Linked DNA regions of Homo sapiens: all the other regions are linked to region 2. Evidence: promoter capture Hi-C in human tissues and cell types (Jung and others, 2019). All regions are on one chromosome and are shown on one strand. Each heading gives the region's core, a stretch centred on a gene start or on the middle of the fragment in contact. The rest is flanking DNA. Distances are from core to core; before and after follow the strand shown. Region 1 overlaps CEACAM16-AS1 (CEACAM16, CEACAM19 and PVR antisense RNA 1). Region 2 holds the start of CLASRP (CLK4 associating serine/arginine rich protein). Region 3 holds the start of CEACAM16 (CEA cell adhesion molecule 16, tectorial membrane component). Region 4 holds the start of ERCC2 (ERCC excision repair 2, TFIIH core complex helicase subunit). Region 5 overlaps CKM (creatine kinase, M-type). Region 6 has its middle 12 kb from the start of FOSB.

What was found. Contacts are between HindIII fragments. The study calls those that stand out against the background at their distance.
Region 1: a contact is called between a fragment that was not itself captured here and the fragment with the promoter of CLASRP in region 2, in 1 of the 25 tissues and cell types used here (spleen).
Region 3: a contact is called between the fragment with the promoter of CEACAM16 here and the fragment with the promoter of CLASRP in region 2, in 3 of the 25 tissues and cell types used here (heart left ventricle, heart right ventricle and liver).
Region 4: a contact is called between the fragment with the promoter of ERCC2 here and the fragment with the promoter of CLASRP in region 2, in 6 of the 25 tissues and cell types used here (adrenal gland, aorta, dorsolateral prefrontal cortex and 3 more).
Region 5: a contact is called between a fragment that was not itself captured here and the fragment with the promoter of CLASRP in region 2, in 5 of the 25 tissues and cell types used here (aorta, lymphoblastoid cells, mesendoderm cells and 2 more).
Region 6: a fragment that was not itself captured here is called in contact with the fragment with the promoter of CLASRP in region 2 in 1 of the 25 tissues and cell types used here (heart left ventricle).

Annotation. Positions count from the first base shown.
Region 1 is chr19:44,715,586-44,718,573 of GRCh38, reverse strand. The region is part of intron 1 of CEACAM16-AS1 (CEACAM16, CEACAM19 and PVR antisense RNA 1); the gene reads left to right. Among named protein-coding and RNA genes, the nearest start is that of CEACAM16-AS1, 8.1 kb to the left of the region's middle. The HindIII fragment of the contact is 6,037 bases long and covers 1-2,988 here.
Region 2 is chr19:45,037,422-45,040,464 of GRCh38, reverse strand. It overlaps CLASRP (CLK4 associating serine/arginine rich protein), which reads right to left and starts at 1,420. Exons shown (of 21, transcript NM_007056.3): 1 at 1,357-1,420; 2 at 154-281. The coding sequence starts at 252. It overlaps RELB (RELB proto-oncogene, NF-kB subunit), which reads right to left. Exons shown (of 12, transcript NM_006509.4): 12 at 2,273-3,043. The coding sequence ends at 2,675. RefSeq lists an enhancer at 877-1,746. The HindIII fragment of the contact is 17,106 bases long and covers 1-3,043 here.
Region 3 is chr19:44,697,837-44,700,536 of GRCh38, reverse strand. It overlaps CEACAM16 (CEA cell adhesion molecule 16, tectorial membrane component), which reads right to left and starts at 1,386. Exons shown (of 7, transcript NM_001039213.4): 1 at 1,277-1,386. CEACAM16-AS1 (CEACAM16, CEACAM19 and PVR antisense RNA 1) reads left to right here. Exons shown (of 2, transcript NR_186815.1): 2 at 1,360-1,499. The HindIII fragment of the contact is 25,622 bases long and covers 1-2,700 here.
Region 4 is chr19:45,369,323-45,372,151 of GRCh38, reverse strand. It overlaps ERCC2 (ERCC excision repair 2, TFIIH core complex helicase subunit), which reads left to right and starts at 1,579. Exons shown (of 23, transcript NM_000400.4): 1 at 1,579-1,616; 2 at 1,920-2,019. The coding sequence starts at 1,612. RefSeq lists enhancers at 1,286-1,365, 1,984-2,825. The HindIII fragment of the contact is 25,658 bases long and covers 1-2,829 here.
Region 5 is chr19:45,307,583-45,310,685 of GRCh38, reverse strand. CKM (creatine kinase, M-type) reads left to right here. Exons shown (of 8, transcript NM_001824.5): 6 at 2,154-2,277; 7 at 3,036-3,103. Among named protein-coding and RNA genes, the nearest start is that of CKM, 14 kb to the left of the region's middle. RefSeq lists a silencer at 1,999-2,156. The HindIII fragment of the contact is 3,883 bases long and covers 1-3,103 here.
Region 6 is chr19:45,454,072-45,457,176 of GRCh38, reverse strand. No RefSeq gene overlaps it. Among named protein-coding and RNA genes, the nearest start is that of FOSB, 12 kb to the left of the region's middle. RefSeq lists enhancers at 396-1,362, 1,351-1,600, 1,363-2,329, 2,637-2,696. The HindIII fragment of the contact is 7,912 bases long and covers 1-3,105 here.

The sequences.
Region 1 (2,988 bases), core at 459-2,958, 320 kb after region 2:
GGACAGTGAAGGGCGCCAGTCTCAGCCCTCATCTGAAACCTGCTCCGTGACCCTGGACTAGTTCCTGCTCCTCTCTGGACCAAATCCTGGCCCTGCTCCTTTCTGGCTGAGTAACTTTGGGCAAGTCACCTCCTCTTCTTTGTGGTGTCTCACTTTCCTTTTTTTTTTTTTTTTGTCAAACAGTCTCTGCATCTGAGTCCCCCAATTTCCCAGCTAACAAAAATTCCCTAGACCCTTTGTTAAAAATTCTGCTTTCCGGGCGTGGTGGCAGGCGCCTATAATCTCAGCTACTCGGGAGGCTGAGGCACAAGAATAGCTTGAACCCGGGAGGCAGAAGTTGAAGTGAGCTGAGATCATGCCACTGCACTCCAGCCTGGATGACAGAGCAAGACTCTGTCTCAAAAAAAAAAAAAAAAGAAAAAAAAAAGAAAGAAAATTCTTTCAAGTCCCCACCCTGGAGAGACAGGTTTTCTGGGCCCAGGCAGAAGCCTGGGATATATAACTTATTTTATTTTATTTTAATTTTTGAGACAGGGTCTTGTTCTGTCTCATAGGCTGGAGTGCAATGGCACCATCACAGCTCACTACAGCCTCAAAATCCTAGGCGCAAGCAATGCTCCCATCTCAGCCTCCCAGGTAGCTGGGATGACAGACAAGTACTGCCATGCCCAAATAATTCTGTTTTTTTTTTTTGTTTTTTGTTTTTTTTTGTAGAGATAGGGTCTTGCAATGTTGCCCAGGCTGTTCTTGAACTCCTGGCCTCAAGTAATCCTCCTGCCTCAGCTTCCCAAAGTGATGGGATAACAGGCGTTAGCCAGTGCTCTTCGCAGGGATGTTTACGTTAATAAACAGGAGATTTGGGAAATGTATTAATAGTTCCATTTCAAAGGGAAGCTTTGAGGAGCAAGTCAGAGAACCTGTGCTGAGAGCACCTACCCTGGAACCTGCGATGATGAGCATCGTGTTTCTAAAAGCTCATACACATTTATTATTATTGCTTTTATTACTTTTTTTTTTTTTTGAGACAGAGTCTCACTCTGTCTCCAGGCTGGAGTGCAGTGGCACGATCTAGGCTCACTGCAAACTCCGCCTCCTGGGTTCGAGCGAATTCTTCTGCCTCAGCCTCCCAAGTAGCTGGGACTACAGGTATGTGCCACCACGGCCAACTAATTTTTGTATTTTTTAGTAGAGACAGGGTTTCACCATGTTGGCCAGGATTGTTTTAATCTCTTGATCTTGTGATCTGCCTATTACTTTTTTTTTTTTTTGAGATGGAGTCCACTTTGTTGCCCAGGCCGGAGTGCAGTGGTGCAATCTCCGCTCACAGAAACCTCTGCCTCCTGGGTTCAAGTGATTCTCATGCCTCAGCCTCCCAAGTAGCTGGGATTACAGGCGCACATGATGACATCTGGCAATTATTTGTATTTTTAGTAGAGACGGGGTTTCACCATGTTGGCTAGGCTGGTCTCGAACTCCTGACCTTAGGTGATCTGCCTGCCTCAGCCTCCCAAAGTGCTGGGATTACAGGCATGAGGCACCGCGCCCGGCCTATTATTACTTTTTGTCAGCAAATCTCAGTGATTACAATGTAAAGAACATCATATATTACATAAAGCGAAGCAAACCTGCTTAGTAGGATTAAGTTCGCCAGGACAAATGTTATCTTTGAAGCAGGGTGTGGTGGCTCACACCTGTAATCCCAGCACTTTAGGAGGCTGAAGTGAAAGGATTGCTTGAGCCCAGGAGTTTGAGACCAGCCTGGACAACAGAACAAGACCCTGACTCCACAAAAAATGCAACAATTGGCCGGCGTGGTGGCTCATGCCTGTAGTCCCAGCTGCTTGGGAGACTGCAGTGAGCCATGATTGCATCACTGTATTCCAGTCTGGATAATGCTGAGACCCGGTCTGGAAAAAAAAAAAAAAAAAAAAAAAAATGGCCGGGCGCGGTGGCTCATGCCTGTAATCCCAGCACTTTGGGAGGCTGAGGCGGGCGGATCACCTGAGGTCAGGATCACCTGAGACCAACCTGACCAAAATGGAGAAACCCCGTCTCTACTAAAAATGCTAAAAAAAAAAAAAAATTAACCGGGTGTGGTGGCTCATGTCTGTAATCCCAGCTACTGGGGAGGCTGAGGCAGGAGAATCGCTTGAACCCAGGAAGCAGAGGTTGTGGTGAGCCGAGATCATGCATTGCACTCCAGCCTGGGCAACAGGAGCAAAACTCCGTCTCAAAAAAAAAAAAAAAAGAAAAAGAAAAATGTTATCTTTGCTTTTTCTATCTGCCTGTTGTTAAAATCTAACACCTTAGTCTGGGTCATAGGCATTTATTGAGCATCCATGTTTCAGGCTCATTACTTGTATTAACTAATGTGATCTTTTCAACAATCCTAGGAGGCAGGGGCAGTATTATCATCTCCATTTTACGAGGAGGAAAAGCAAGCAATGTACCCAAGTTCCCACAGCTAAAAAGAATTCTGTCTGTCCTCAGAGCTGTGCCCTGAAACCCTCTGCCCTGCTGAAGAATGGAGAGGACTCCCCCACCAGCACCTCCACCTAGGACACATGGGAACTGTGGGACTTGGAGCAAAGTTTTCAAGTCTCTGTGCCTTAGTTTCCTCACCTGTAAGTTGGGGGAATGATAGTAACTGCTCTTAAGAGCTGCTGTAGGAATTGAGATCTTGCATGAAAAAGGATAAAACCAATTGATATGGTTTAGTTCTTAGTCCCCACCCAAATCTCATGTCCAGTTATGATCCTCAGTGTAGGAGGAGGGACCTCGTGGGAGGTGATTGGATCGTGGGGGCAGTTTCTAATGTTTTAGCACCATCCTCCTAGTGCTGCTTGTTTAAAAGTGTGTAGCACCCCACCTTCCTCTCCTGCCGGCCATGTGAAGACGTGCTTGCTTCCCTTTCACCATCTGCCATGATTGTAAGTTTCCTGAGGTCTCCCCAGAAGCAGAAGCCTGTATAGCCCACAGAATCATGAG
Region 2 (3,043 bases), core at 171-2,670:
CAATGATTATCCTCAAGAAAAGATTAATGAATATACTCCTGAGGAAATGAGCCTCTTGTCTTGACATACTTCCAAGCCCAGATTTTACCAGGATGACCAGCTGTGCCCCCCAACCCAGGGTCCCTCACCCCAGACAAAAGGCCAGTTACTCACGATCTTTTCATAATACTCCCGTCTCCGCTCCGCCCTCTTCTTGTAGTCGACCATCATGCCTCGAAGCTTCCGCTCATGCTTCCGAGCCTCGTGCCACATTGTGGTGAGGCCAAGCCTGGGGCCTCAACCTGAGGGATGAAGGGACCAGGAAAGTCAGATGGTCTGTGAAACCCGTATGGGCAGAATCAAAGTCATCTAACAAGTTGGTGGCAGAGTCGATCCCAAACAACACATCTCTTAGCTTCAGGGAGCAGAAGTGAAGCTGCAGAACAGTATGCCAGATGTTCAAGTCCATCCCTAACAACTTCGATCTAGAAGCTTGGGCATTCTGAAAAACCCTCAGGTGATTCTGAGGTGAGCATCACTGGGAAAGGGGTGTCCTAGATTCCACGCGCTGGAGTCGGGAATGAAAGGTTTTGAAACATCAGCAGTGTTTGAAGTAGGGTCAGAAGGCAAACCCTGAGCACTTAAGGCTGGAGCTCAAGAGAAAGAGAAGAACTGAAAAGGCTCCCACTAGGGGCCATGCGTGGGGTTGGGTATGAGTCTGGGTGGTAGAGGGATAAGGAGAATAAGGATGAAGGCAGGTGGAGGAAATCGGAGAAAGCTTTTAAGGGAACAGTGCAGTTGTATGAAGGTGGAGGTCGAGGACAGGTGAAGGGCGTGGCGGAAGATGAAGATGCTAGAGGGAGTGGGAACACGGGGAGGGAGTGTTGCAAGGAGACCAGAGTGAAGCTGAGGTCTAAAGATGGGATCTAGATGGCGGGGTGGGGAGAGCATCCAAAGAAAAAGAGCGTAGAGCCTGAGAGAGGCGGAGCTGGCTGACAGGAGGGCGTGGGCTGAGCTTGGGGGCAGGGCTTGCGGGAAAGGGCGGAGACCGAAGGTTTGGACGGGGCTTGTGGATCGCGTCGCGGCCTGAGGATTTGGGCTGGGTTTTTTTTTTGTTGTTTTTTTTTTTGACAAGGGGGCGGGGCCTGTGATAAGCTGCTGGGCCGAAGGCCGAGTTCGACGCGGCAACTTCTGGCCCACAGCCGGGGCACGGGCTCGGCCTGAGGCCCGTCAGGCCTAATGGGGTGAGGGACGAGCGATCCTCGGGGCCGGGACGCAGCAGAAGCCCACAGCAGCATGGGGAGAGCCTGAGGAAAGGGAGAAGCTGGGCTGAGGCCTGCCCGAAAACCGGGAGGTCGAGCCGCAGCCTGCACTCACCGGCTGGTCGCCGCCTCCCACCGCTGCGCTCGCGCGCGGCCCGCACCGGAAGCGGAAATGAAAGGCCGCGCTAGGGGGAGGGGGCGGAGCATGGTGGAGGGCCGCGCAGCGCACTTCCGCCGACGAGAGAGGCGGGTCCTAGAGTCGAGAGGGGCGGGATCCCGAGGAAGAAGTGGGAGAGCGGAGAAGGGAAGAGCTTGGATGCTTTATCTTTTTATCTTTTTTATTTTATTTATTTATTTAATTTTATTTTTTTGAGACGGAGTCTCTCTTTGTCTCCCAGGCTAGAAGGCAGTGGCGCGATCTAGGCTCACTGCAACCTTTGCCTCCTGGGTTTCAGCTATTCTCCCACCTCAGCCTCCCGAGTAGCTGGGACTACAAGCGCGCGCCACCAAGCCCGGCTAATTTTTGTATTTTTAGTAGAGATGGGGTTTCACCATTTTGGTTAGGCTGGTCTCAAACTCCTGACCTCAGGTGATCCACCTGCCTCGGCCTCCCAAAGTGCTGGGATTACAGCCATGAGCCACCATGCCCGGTCTCATTTTTTATTTTCATTTTCATTTTTTATTTTTTTGAGACACAGCCTCGCGCTGTCGCCCAAGCTGGAGTGCAGTGGTGCGGTCTTGGCTCACTGCAACGTCCACCTCCTGGGCTCAAGCGATCCTCCCACCTCAGCCTCTAGAGTAGCTGGGATTACAGGCGCGCAGCACCACGCCCGGCTAATTTTTGTATTTTTTGTAGAGACTAGGTTTCGTCATGTTGCCCAGGCTGGTCTCAAACTCGTGAGCTCAAGCGATCCTCCTGCTTTGGCCTCCCAAAGTGCTGGGATGACAGGCCTGAGCCCCCAGCCTGGAGGCTTTCTTTGCTACTAAGGGACTAGGGCGTTTCCCAAGCCCAGAACAGACGAAACCCCGGAGGCTCAAAAACTCATCTTTATTGGGAAGACTCTGAACAACCAACCTACCCCCCACCTTCAAGTCTGGGGAGGGAGGGCCAGGAATCTGCCCCCTCCTCCCATATGTACAATCTTTTCCGAATCCTACTGGAGAAGGTGCCCCCACATGTGGGGACAGAGGCAGCTGTAACAAGCTAGTGCACGGGAGCCATGTCCCTTTTCCTCTCCGGACTCAGTTTCCTCATCTGTAAAATGGGCTCAAGGGGAAACCCGTGCAACGGAGCTTCTCGCCAAGGCTGAATATGTCCACTTCAGAAGCATGAGGAAGGGCCAAGGGGATGGGGGTGCTAGACATCCTGGTTGGGATTGCACGGCTCCTCCACCTCCCTCCCCACCCAGTGCCCCTCCTCTGGCATCGCGGGGCTACGTGGCTTCAGGCCCCGGGGATAGGAGGCCGCCCCCAAAGGCCGCCTCGCGGTAATGATTGGGGAACATGTTGCTGCCCACAAGGCTGGCGGTGCCTCCATCCCCGGGGCCCGGGGCCTGGTACGAGTCCAGTGTCAGTGGTTCAGGGCCGGGGGTCTCCCCAACCACGGCCCCGGCACCTCCGCTGCACACAACAGCGCTAGCGTGTGGCGGTGCCGGGGGCAGCAGGTCCAGCATGGTGAAGAGTGTGGGGGCCGTAGGGTCGTAGGCAAAGCCATCGTCCAGGAGGTCAGGCCCGCCAGGGGGCTCCAGGCCGGGCAGGGACACGGTGCCAGAGAAGAAGTCAGGGTCTGGCAGCAGGGCTGA
Region 3 (2,700 bases), core at 137-2,636, 340 kb after region 2:
GAGGCCAAGGCAGGCGGATCATTTGAGGTCAGGAGTTCGAGATCAGCCTGGCCAACATGGCGAAACCCCATCTCTACTAAAAATAATAATAATAAAAATAGCCAGGCGTGGTGGCAGGTGCCTGTAGTCCCAGCACTTTGGGAGGCTGAGATGGGCAGATCACCTGAGGTGAGGAGTTTGCAACCAGCCTGACCAACATGGCGAAACCCCGTCTCTATTAAAAATATAAGTTAGCTGGGTGTGGTGGCTAACGCCTGTAATCCCAACACTTTGGGAGGCCAAGGCAGGTGGCTCACGAGGTCAGGAGTTCGAGACCAGCCTGGCCAATATGGTGAAACCTCGTATGTACTAAAAATATAAAAAATTAGCTGGGTGTGGTGGTGTGCACCTGTAGTCCCAGCTACTCGAGAGGCTGAGGCAGGAGAATCTCTTGAACCCAGGAGGTGGAGGTTGCAGCGAGCTGAGATCACACCACTGCACTCCAGCCTGGGTGACAGAGTGAGACTCTATCTCAAAAAACAAAAGCAAAAACAAAAAATAAAAGTTAGCCGGTCATGGTGGCACATGCCTGTAATCCCAGCTACTAGGGAGGCTGAGGTAGGAGAATCGCTTGAATCCAGGAGGTAGAGGTTGCAGTGAGCCGAGATCCTGCCACTGCACTCCAGCCTGGGTGACAGAGCAAGACTCCATTTCAAAAACAAACAAAAAAATAGAGATGATATGGACCCTACTTCAGGTTTGTTGACAGCAGTTAGTGAGAGGCTACAAGTCAGGGATTTAAGCCAGAGCCTGGTGGACGTGGGTCTGATTGGTATGCCTGTTATTAAAAGTATAGGCTCTGGCCGGGCGTGGTGGCTCATGGCCGGACGCAGTGGCTCATGCCTGTAGTCCTAGCACTTTGGGAGGCCGAGGTGGGTGGATCAACTGAGGTCAGGAGTTCAAGACCAGCCTGGCCAGCATGGTGAAACCCTGTCTCTACTAAAAATACAAAAATTAGCTGGGTGTGGTCGCGGGCACCTGTAATCCCAGCTACTTGGGAGGCTGAAGCAGGAGAATTGCTTGAACCCTGGGCAAAAGAGTGAAACTCCATCTCAAAAAAAAAAAAGTATAGGCTCTGGACATAGTTCCACTGTTTCCTACCTCCAGGACCCTGGGCAATTTATGGACTCTGCCAAGCCTCAGTTTCCTTATTTGTAAAATAGGGAAAACAATAGTACTCACATCACAGGGCTGTTGAAAGGATTAAGTAGATACACATGTGAAGTACAGTACTTACCACGACTGGCGCAGAGTAAATGCTCAGTAAATCACTCATTCACTTATTGGACAAATACTGAATGAGCACCTATTGTTTGCCAGGTGCTGTTCTAGGCGCTGAGGATGCAGCCGTGCACAAGACGGATGAAATCCCTGCCCTCAGGGGGCCGACATTTGCGGAGTAAATAAAGGAAAGGTAAATATCTTCCACGTCAGATTGAAAAATAAAGTCAGAAAGGGGATTTGCCATTTTATTTTTTGTAGAGATGGGATCTCGCTATGTTGCTCTGCCTGGTCTCAAACTCTTGGCCTCAAGTGATCTTCCCACCTTGGCCTCCCAAAGTGCTGGGATTACAGCCATGAGCCACTGCCCCTGGCCTGGTTTGCTACTTTAAATTGGGGTGGAGGGAGGGTAACAGGGAAGGTGTCTCTGAGATGATGCTGGGCAGGAGCCGAGGGGGTTGTGGTGCCAGAGCTGCTGATAGCTGTGTTCTTATGACCTGCATCCTGATGGCTTCTGAGTCCTGGTTCCTCTGAGGCCTCTGCAGCCTGCTTCCGGGCAGGGGGCCACACCTGTGCTCACCTGTCCTGGTTTGCCTCCAGCACTGTGTCCTGGGCTGCCCTCGTGGGGCAGGGCTCTAACAAGGGGGAGAAGGCCCTGAGGAGGTGCGGGTGAGGCCAGGTGAGAGGCACAGAGGATGTCCTGGCGCCTCCTGCTCCCCTCTCCCCACCTGTGACCTCACCTCACTCTTCTGCGTCCTGGCCCAGAGCACTGGGACCTCATCCCAGTATCAATCAGGATGCCTCCCTGATGTCCCTGGGCACCTCTCACTCACCTTGTCCCAAACTGACCTTGGCATCTTCCCCCAGAAGTGTATCTTCCCCTGGTGCCCTTATCAGGGAAGGCGCCACTACCCACCTCATCGCTGGGAAAAGAGACCTGGGGCCTCATCCCTGATGCCTCCCCCTACTCCCCGAACACGCCACCCCTTCTGGCAACTGACTCTACGTATATCTTCTCTCCCTCCCTGAAGCCCCTGCCCTGGTCTAGGTGACCACTCCACCACCCCACCTTGCCTGGGTCCTCCTGTCTCCCCACCAGCCTCCTCCCTAGTCTCTGGCCCTGGTCTCCCCGACTCCCATTGCCCCTCCACATGGCAGACAGAGGCTCTTTCCAAAACAAAAACCTGCCTCTGCCCCTCCGTGCTCAGAACCTGCTGTGGCTCCCCAGTGCCCTTGGGAGGAAGCCCAGGTTCCTCACTGTAGCCCAGGAGGCCCTGCCCGGCCTGACTCCTGCCCACCTGACCAGCTACATAGAATACCACTTGCTTCCGGGAACCCTCTGCTTCAGTTCTTCTGTTTCACTTGCACTCTACCCAGAATATCCCTGCTTCCCTCTGCTCTATTCCACTGCCTTCCCCAAACCCTCTCCTCCAGGAAGCC
Region 4 (2,829 bases), core at 330-2,829, 330 kb before region 2:
GCGCACACACACACACACACACACACACACACACATTTGAGATAGGTTTTCACTCCTGTTGCCCAGGCTGGAGTGCAGTGGCACAATCACTGCCCATTGCAACCTCTGCCTCCCAGGCCCAGGTGATTCTCCCACCTCAGCCTCCTGAGTATCTGGGACTACAGGTGCACGCCACCACGCCCAGCTAATTTTTGCATTTTTTGTAGAGACGGGTTTTCACCATGTTGCCCAGGCTGGTCTCTAGCTCCTGAGCTCAAGCAATGTACTCGCCTTGGCCTTCCAAAGTGTTGGAACCACAGGCACGAGCCACCACTCCAGGCTGTAATCATATATTCATTTGTATATTTAATATCTGTTCTTTGAGGCCAGGCCTGGTGCCTCACCCCTGTAATCCCAACAATTTGAAAGGCTGAGGGGAGAGGATCACTTGAACCTGCGAGTTTAACCAGCCTGGGCAACGTGGTGAGACCTCGTCTCTAAAAAAATTTAAAAAATAAAACTTAGCTGGGCTTGGTGGTGCACACCTGTGGTCCCAGCTACTCTGGAAGCTGAGGTGGGAGGATCGCTTGAGCCCAAGAGGTGGAGGCTGCAGTGAGCTGTGACTGTGCCACTGCACTCCAGCCTTGGCGACAGAGAAAGACCCTGTCTCAAGGAAAAAAATCTGTTCTTTGAGGGCAGGTGCTGAGGCTGTCATGGTCACCTTTCTGTTCCCAGGGGCCAGCACAGGATCAGACACATGGTAGATGCCACATAGCTATTTGTTGAAGAAACAAACAAAAGCTAGCATTTATGTTTTATTTATTAGTTATTATTATTAATATTTGAAATGGAGTTTCGCTTTTGTTGCCCAGGCTAGAGTGCGACGGCGCCATCTCTGCTCACTGCAACCTCTGCCTCCCAGGTTCAAGCAATTCTCCTGCTTCAGCCTCCCGAGTAGCTGGGATTACAAGCATTTGCCAGCACGCCCGGCTAATTTTGTATCTTTAGTAGAGACAGGTTTTCTCCATGTTGGTCAGGCTGGTCTTGAACTCCCGACCTCAGGTGATCCACCTGCCTCAGCCTCCCAAAGTGCTGGGATTACAGGCTTGAGCCACCGCGCCCGGCCTGCAAAGCCATTTCTAACTCTTGGGCCCAGAAAGGATCACCAATTTCCCTGTCATTCTCCGTTAGACTATTCGCTACTGAGACGATTTTTTTTTTTTTTTGAGACGAGGTGGAGGGGCGGGGGTTCTCGCTATCTTGCTCAAGCTGATCTCGAACTCCTGGGTTCGATCAATACTCAGACAATCTTGGCAGGCGCAGGAGGACCAAATTCTAGTGAATGAGATCGAGTCTCTCGGCTCTTTCCCTTCCATGTTTTCTTTTTGATTGGCCCTCGACGATCCTCAGTGACGCCTCCCGCACCGCCTCACCCGAGAGTCAGCCGCCCTCGCTTTTCCGTGCGCACGCGCAGTATCCCGATTGGCTCTGCCCTAGCGGATTGACGGGCAGGTTAGCCAATGGTCTCGTAATATAGGTGGAGCGAGCCCTCGAGGATGTCCACGACCCGGCCTCTCGCTGAATATTCATGAGGGAGGCGGGTCGACCCCGCTGCACAGTCCGGCCGGCGCCATGAAGTGAGAAGGGGGCTGGGGGTCGCGCTCGCTAGCGGGCGCGGGGGGTCTTGAAGATGGGGTCATCGGTGGGCGCGCCTGGGTCCCCAAGGGGGCGAGGGGAGGGTGAAGGGGTGGGACGGGGGCAGCCGCAGGGAGCAGCAGTGATAGCGAGGAGACACTGAGGGGGCCCCGAGGCTCCTGAGGACCTGAGGGTTACCGGGGGCGCCGGGCCCGTCACCCTTCTCTGGGCTCGACGACCGGGCACTGTGGAGGCGGGAGAGGGGCTGAGGGGACGGGAACTGACCCAGCAGCCCCTGCCGCCAGGCTCAACGTGGACGGGCTCCTGGTCTACTTCCCGTACGACTACATCTACCCCGAGCAGTTCTCCTACATGCGGGAGCTCAAACGCACGCTGGACGCCAAGGTGGGTGGCCGGTGGGCCCGACCCGCCCACTCGACCGGTGGGGCTGCCACGCCTGGGCCTAAGACAGATTGCAGGACGTCTGGATTTTAGAAGTCCGAGGTCCCTGGGAATCCAGGACCCCATAATCTTCCGTTATCTAAAACAATAATGGTGAATAGGCTGGGCGCGGTGGCTCGCGCCTGTAATCCCAGAGCTTTGGGAGGACGAGGCGGGCGGATCACTTGAGGTCAGGAGTTGGAGACCAGCCTGGCCAACACGGTGAAACCCCGTCTGTACTAAAAATACAAAAATTAGCCAGGTGTGGTGGCGGGCGCCTGTAATCCCACCTACTCGGGAGGCTGAGGCAGGAGGATCGCTTGAGGCCAGGAGTTGGAGGCTGCAGTGAGCCATGATTGTGCCACTGCATTCCAGCCTGGGCAATAGTGACACTTGTCTCTTAAAAAAGAAGGGAGAAAAGTTCACTATATATCAGCTACTGTGCCAAATATTTAACCTGCAATTTCTCACAATCCTCATAGTCATGTTATGAGGAAGGTTTTATTATTAGGCCCATTTTATTTTATTTATTTATTTTTGAGATTGAATTACAGGTGCGCGCCACCACATCTGGCTAATTTTTTGTATTTTTAGTAGAGACGGGGTTTCACCTTGTTGGCCCAGCTGGTCTTGAACTTCTGACCTCAGGTGGTTCACCTGCCTCAGCCTCCCAAAGTGCTGGGATTACAGGTGTGAGCCACCACGCCTGGCTTTAGGCTCATTTTAGAGATAGGGATACTGAGGTCTGGGGAGGTGAAGGTACTTGCCTAAGAC
Region 5 (3,103 bases), core at 192-2,691, 270 kb before region 2:
GGTTACTGTGAATCATGACCGAGGTACTGCACTCCAGCTACCTGTCTCAAAAATAAGAACTCAGACTTGAACCGTACTCCCTAGGTTCAAATCCCAGCTCTACCATTTACTAACTTTACTAGCTTTGTGACCTTGGGCAACTTATTTTATTTTTCTCTACCCCAGTTTCCTAGCTATAGGATAGGGATCACAATAATTTGTAGTTTCTGGTGTTCTTGTGAGGATTAAATGAGTTAATTTATGTAAAGTATTAAAAGCAGTGCCTGGGCCAGGCGCGGTGGCTCACGCCTGTAATCCCAGCACTTTGGGAGGCCAAGGCGGGCGGATCACGAGGTCAGGAGATCGAGACCATCCTGGCTAACATGGTGAAACCCCGTCTCTACTAAAAATACAAAAAATTAGCTGGGCTTGGTGGCAGGCGCCTGTAGTCCTACTTACTCGTGAGGCTGAGGCAGGAGAATGGCGTGAACCCGGGAGGCGGAGCTTGAAGTGAGCCAAGATCGCATCACTGCACTCCAGCCTGGGCGACAGACCAAGACTCTGTCTCAAAAAAAAAAAAAAAAAAAAAAGCAGTGCCTGGTATACACTAAGTGTTCAGTACATCTTGGTTATTCGTCTTATCTTTATTATAAAGTATTATTGCTAGACTTGTTTTGACTCTTTGAATCCCTGATTCAGATAGTCAAAGATTTAGAGAACCTAGGTTTCAATCGATGAAGGGAGCCTGGGTGCTAAGATATACAGATGGGATGATTCTAAGATTTCAAGATTTTAAATATTTTTAGGTTTTAAGATTCCACTCATTTATTTATTTATTTATTTTGAGATGGACTCTCACTCTGAGGCCCAGGCTGGAGTGCAGTGGGTTGATCTCGACTCACTGAAACCTCCATCTCCCGGGTTCAAACGATCCTCTCACCCTCCGCCTCCTTAGTAGCTAGGACGACAGGCATGTGCCACTGTGCCCAGCTAGTTTTCGTATTTTTGGTAGAGACAGCGTTCTGCCATGTTGCTCAGGCTGGTCTCGAACTCTTCACCTTAAGTGATCCGCCCACCTCAGCCTCCCAAAGTGCTGGGATTACAAGCGTGAGCCACCATGCCTGCCCTCAGGTTTTTTTTTTTTTTTTTTTGAGACAGGGTCTTGCTCTGTTGCCCAGGCTGGAGTGCAGTGGTGGGATCATAGCTCGCTGCAGCCTGGACCTTCCAAGGTCAAGTGATCCTCCCGCCTCAGCCTCCCCAGTGGCTTGGACTACAGGCATGTGTCCCACCATGCCTGCTAATTTTTTAAATTTTGTAGATATGTGGGTCTTGCCATGTTGCCCAGGGTAGTCTTGAACTCCTGGGCTCAAGCAATCCTCCGGCCTTGGCCTCCCAAAGTGCTGGGATTACAGGCATGAGCCACCACACCCGGCCATTTCCGGATCTTAATATTTTATGTTCTTTTTTTTTTTTTTTTTTGAGATGGAGTCTCGCTCTGTTGCCCAGGCTGGAGTGCAGTGGCGCGATCTCGACTCACTGCAAGCTCCACCTCCCGGGTTCTCGCCATTCTCTTGCCTCAGCCTCCTGAGTAGCTGGGACTACAGATGCCCGCCACCATGCCCAGATTTTTTTTTGTATTTTTTAGTAGAGACAGGGTTTCGACGTGTTAGCCAGGATGGTGTCGATCTCCTGACCTTGTGATCCGCCCGCCTCGGCCTCCCAAAGTGCTGGGATTACAGGCGTGAGCCACCGCACCCAGCCTTAATATTTTATGTTCTAAGATCCTGCTTCTGAGATGCTAGGATTGGGAGCTAACACACTACGATGGGAAGATTTTCTGGTCCTGAAACCAGATGTAGGATTACCAAGTGTTATCAGTTCTGATCCCAAGCTTCTGTTTGTCAAACATCCTGAGATCCCAAGGATCTATAATAATACTGTTCAAAGACTTAAGTCCCTAAAAGTCCTTGATCCCAGGATTCAGCGTTTTGCAGATCCTGTGACATTAGAGTCTACAGGTTTAAGCTTCTGCGTTTTGAGGAGGCAGATGCCACCCACCTCCCACCCCTCAGGCCCTCTTCCCCCATCGGTGGGCAGATGTTTTGGGGGAGGGCTGGGAATGGGGTTCCCACGGGGCTGACACCTTGGCCTCTTGCTGCGGCACCTTACTCTAGGCACAATGACAACAAGAGCTTCCTGGTGTGGGTGAACGAGGAGGATCACCTCCGGGTCATCTCCATGGAGAAGGGGGGCAACATGAAGGAGGTTTTCCGCCGCTTCTGCGTAGGGCTGCAGAAGGTGGGTGTCTGCCCTTAGCTGCTGACTTCTGACTCCACCTTGAACGCCCCACCTGCTTTCCGAGGCCCCGCCCCTTCCCCTATACTAAGCCCTGCCCCACCCATTTTCCAGGGCCCTGCCCCCCGGACCTGGCTCCACCCCATGCCAAACCCCGCCCCCCAAAACTAGCCCCACCCGCTTTTCAGGGCCCCGCCCCTGGACCCAGCTCCACCCTATGCCCAAGCCCCGCCCGTAAGGATCCGCCTTCAGGCCGGGAGCGGTGGCTCACGCCTGTAATCCCAGCACTTTGGGAGGCTGAGGAGGGTCAGGAGTTCAAGACCAGCCTGGCCAACATGGTGAAACCCCGTCTCTATACTAAAAAATTAATAAATAAATAAATTATCCAGGCGTAGTGGCGCGCGCCTGTAGTCCCAGCTACTCGGGAGGCTGAGGCAGGAGAATCGCTTGAACCTGGGAGGCAGAGGTTGCAGTGAGACGAGATCACGCCATTGCACTCCAGCCTGGGTGACACAGAGAGACTCTGGAAAAAAAAAAAAAAAAAACCCGCCTTCAAAGCGTTCTTAGTCCCCGCCCCTCAAAATCCTGCCTTGGTCCCCATTGTCTAGCCAGCACCCTCGGAATCTCCTACCTCCCTGTTCCCCTCAGAATCCCACCTCCACCACGTTCCCACGCCCTGTCCCTCCGGACCCTGTCCATGTTGCGGGTGCATTTGGGGGTGCCTGCCGGCGCTGACCCCTGGTCCTCTCTCTGAACCTCAGATTGAGGAGATCTTTAAGAAAGCTGGCCACCCCTTCATGTGGAACCAGCACCTGGGCTACGTGCTCAC
Region 6 (3,105 bases), core at 578-3,077, 420 kb before region 2:
TAGCTGGGACTACAGGCATGAGCCACCATGCTTAGCTAATTTTTTGATTTTTTGGTAGAGATGGCATCTCACTATGTTTCCCAGGCTGGTCTCGAACTCTTGGGCTCCGGCGATCCACCCACCTTGGCCTCCCAAAATGTCGGGATTACAGGCGTGCCAGCCACCAAAAAAGCGAGAGGATAGCCTGAGCTCAGGAGTTCAAGACCAGCCTGGGAAACATAGTGAGACGTCATCTCCATTATTTAAAAAAAAAAAATGTAGAATGCCTAGAACAGCACCTGGCAGAAAGTATGTTCCCCGTAAGCATAGCTATTACAATAATAGTGATTTTTTTTTTTTTTTTTTTTTGCTATAGGATCTTGTTCTGTTGTCTAGGCTGGAGTACAGTGGTGCAATCAATAGCTCACTGCAGTCTCAAACTCCAACACTCCAGCAATCCACCCTCCACAGCCTCCTGAGTACCTGGGACTACAGGTGCACACCACCACATCCAGCTAATTTTTAAATTTTTTCTTTGTAGAGAAGGGGTCTTGCTATGATGTCCAGGCTGGTCTTGAACTTCTGGCCTCCAAGGGATCCGCCTACCTCTGCCTCACGAGTCACTGTGCCTGGCCTAATAATGCTTGTTAATACCCCCACTCAACAGATGAGGAAACTGTCCCTTAGGCCTCAGTCCCTTAGGGAACTTGCAGGCTTATGGGTAGTGAGGCCCCGCTGGCCTGGGGTGGGTGGAGTCAGGGCCTCCCCAGGCCGGGTGTTGAGTGTGCGTGTGTGCCTTTGCGTGTGTAAGCACATTGGTGATTCCATTGTCCTCCTGACTGACTCTTACGACCAAGTCTCTTACGATTTGGTGATTCTCTGCGCAAACACTCAGACCCCATCCCACCCCTGTGGGTCGCCCAGCCGCTGCCCACAAGCCGCAGCCTCCCCGTCACACCCACACGTGCTTCCTCCTCACCCGCCAGGGCCTCCCCACAGGCTCTCCTTCCCAAACTTTCTCCTTCCTGCCCCACATGGACGCCTGTGGCTGGGTGGTCTCTGGCTGTAGCCACCCTGTCCCTGACTCAGGCCCCATGCCCCCTCACTGACCCCTGTGTGCCCGGCCCAACCCCCGCAGCCAGACGGCCACTCGGGGGTGTTGCGGGGGGTCACAGCAGGCCACGTGCCCGGGGTGGCTGAATTCCGCCTGTGATTCAGTCAGCTTGTCTAGGCTGCCGGGGGTGCCCTGGCCGGGTGATGTCAGCGGCCAGGTATGTGGCTGGGGTTTCTCCCAGGGTGACTCAGGCTCCTGAACTACCCTCTCCCTCCTGCAGACACTCTGGGCTGCTGTCCAGGGCAGGCAGCCGGCTGGCTGCCTGACACTCCCTTCCCTGGCCCCCTCCACGCCCTCTTCAGCACAGAGCTGTGGGAACAGCAGGGCTGGGGGACTGGCACAAGAGGGATCCCAGAGGCCAGGGCCCCAGCCCAGCCTTCCCCTAAGACCAGGACTCACAAGTGGTTGTAGGATGACATTCATTCGTTCATTCAATCAGCCATTCAAATATTTAATCAGCACACCTACACACACACACACACACACACACACACACACACACACACTGCAGTCACACACTCTAGGTGCTGGGGACAGAGCAGGAAACAAGACAGACAAAAATAAAAATTTCCTCAAATGGCCAGACATGGTGGCTCACTCCTGTAAACCCAGCACTTTGGGAAGCCAAGGCAGGAGGATTGCTTGAGCCCAGAAGTTTGAGACCAGCCTGGGCAACAGAGTGAGACCCCATCTCTACAAAAAAATAAGCCTGTAGCCCCAGCTACTCAGGAGGCTGAGGCAAGAGGATCACTTAAGCCCAGGAGGTCAAGGCTGCAGTGGGTTGTCATCATGCCACTGTGCTCCAGCCTGTATGACAGAGCCAGAGCCAGACCCTATCTAAAAAAAAAAAAAAAATTAGCTGGGCGTAGTGGTGGGCACCTGTTATCCCAGCCACTTGGGAGCCTGAGGCAGGAGAATCGCTTGAACCCGGGAGGCGGAGGTTGCAGTGAGCCGAGATCGTGCCACTGCACTCCAGCCAGGAAAGAGAGTGAGACTCTGTCTCAAAAAAAAAAGAAAAAAGAAAGAAAGAAAATTCCTCACAAAGCCTTTATCAGTATCTGCACCTAGTGCATTATTATTATTATTATTATTGTTTTTGACACAAAGTCTCACTCTGTCGCCCAGGCTGGAGTGCAGTGGCATGATCTCGGTTCACTGCAACCCACACCTCCCGGGTTCAAGTTATTCTCCTGCCTCAACCTCCCGAGTAGCTGGAATTACAGGCACACACCACCAAGCCTGGTTAATTTTTTTTGTATTTTTAGTAAAGACAGGGTTTTGCCATGCTGGCCAGGCTGGTCTCGAACTCCAGACCTCAGGTGATCCACCCTTCTCGGCCTCCCAAAGTGCTGGGATTACAGGTGTGAGCCACCGTGCCTGGCCTATTGTTATTGCTATTATTGCCCCCCTCCAAATTCCACTAGCCTGTGAAACTCAGGCTGGTTTCTCTTCCTCCAGGCAGCTCTCCAAACAGCTCATGTTTTTCTTTCTTTTTTTTTTTTTGAGAGGGAGTCTTGCTCTGTCACCAGGCTGGAGTGCAGTGGCGCAATTTCGGCTCACTGCAACCCCCGCCTCCCGAGTTCAAGTGATTCTCCTGCCTCTGCCTCCTGAGTATCTGGGACTACAGGCACGCGCCACCACGCCCACCTAATTTTTGTATTTTTAGTAGAGATGGGGTTTCACCAGGTTGACCAGGATGATCTTGATCTCTTGACCTTGCGATCTGCCTGCCTCGGCCTCCCAAAGTGCTGGGATTACAGGTGTAGGCCACCAGGCCCAGCAAAACAGTTCATTTCTTATAGTTCCCAGCCCCAAAATAGTCCTAGGAGGAAGTCCTTTCTGGAGTCTGACCCTCAGTCTGCCTGCTTCAAATGCGCTCTTTCATCCCTCTTTCACTTCCCACTTTCCCAGTCCCATGGAGTGATTTGAACCTCAATTCCATCCCGTCCCAACTTCACCCTTCATTTACCTTTCCTGAAACCAGACCACGGCTGGGCCTTGTAGCCATTGGG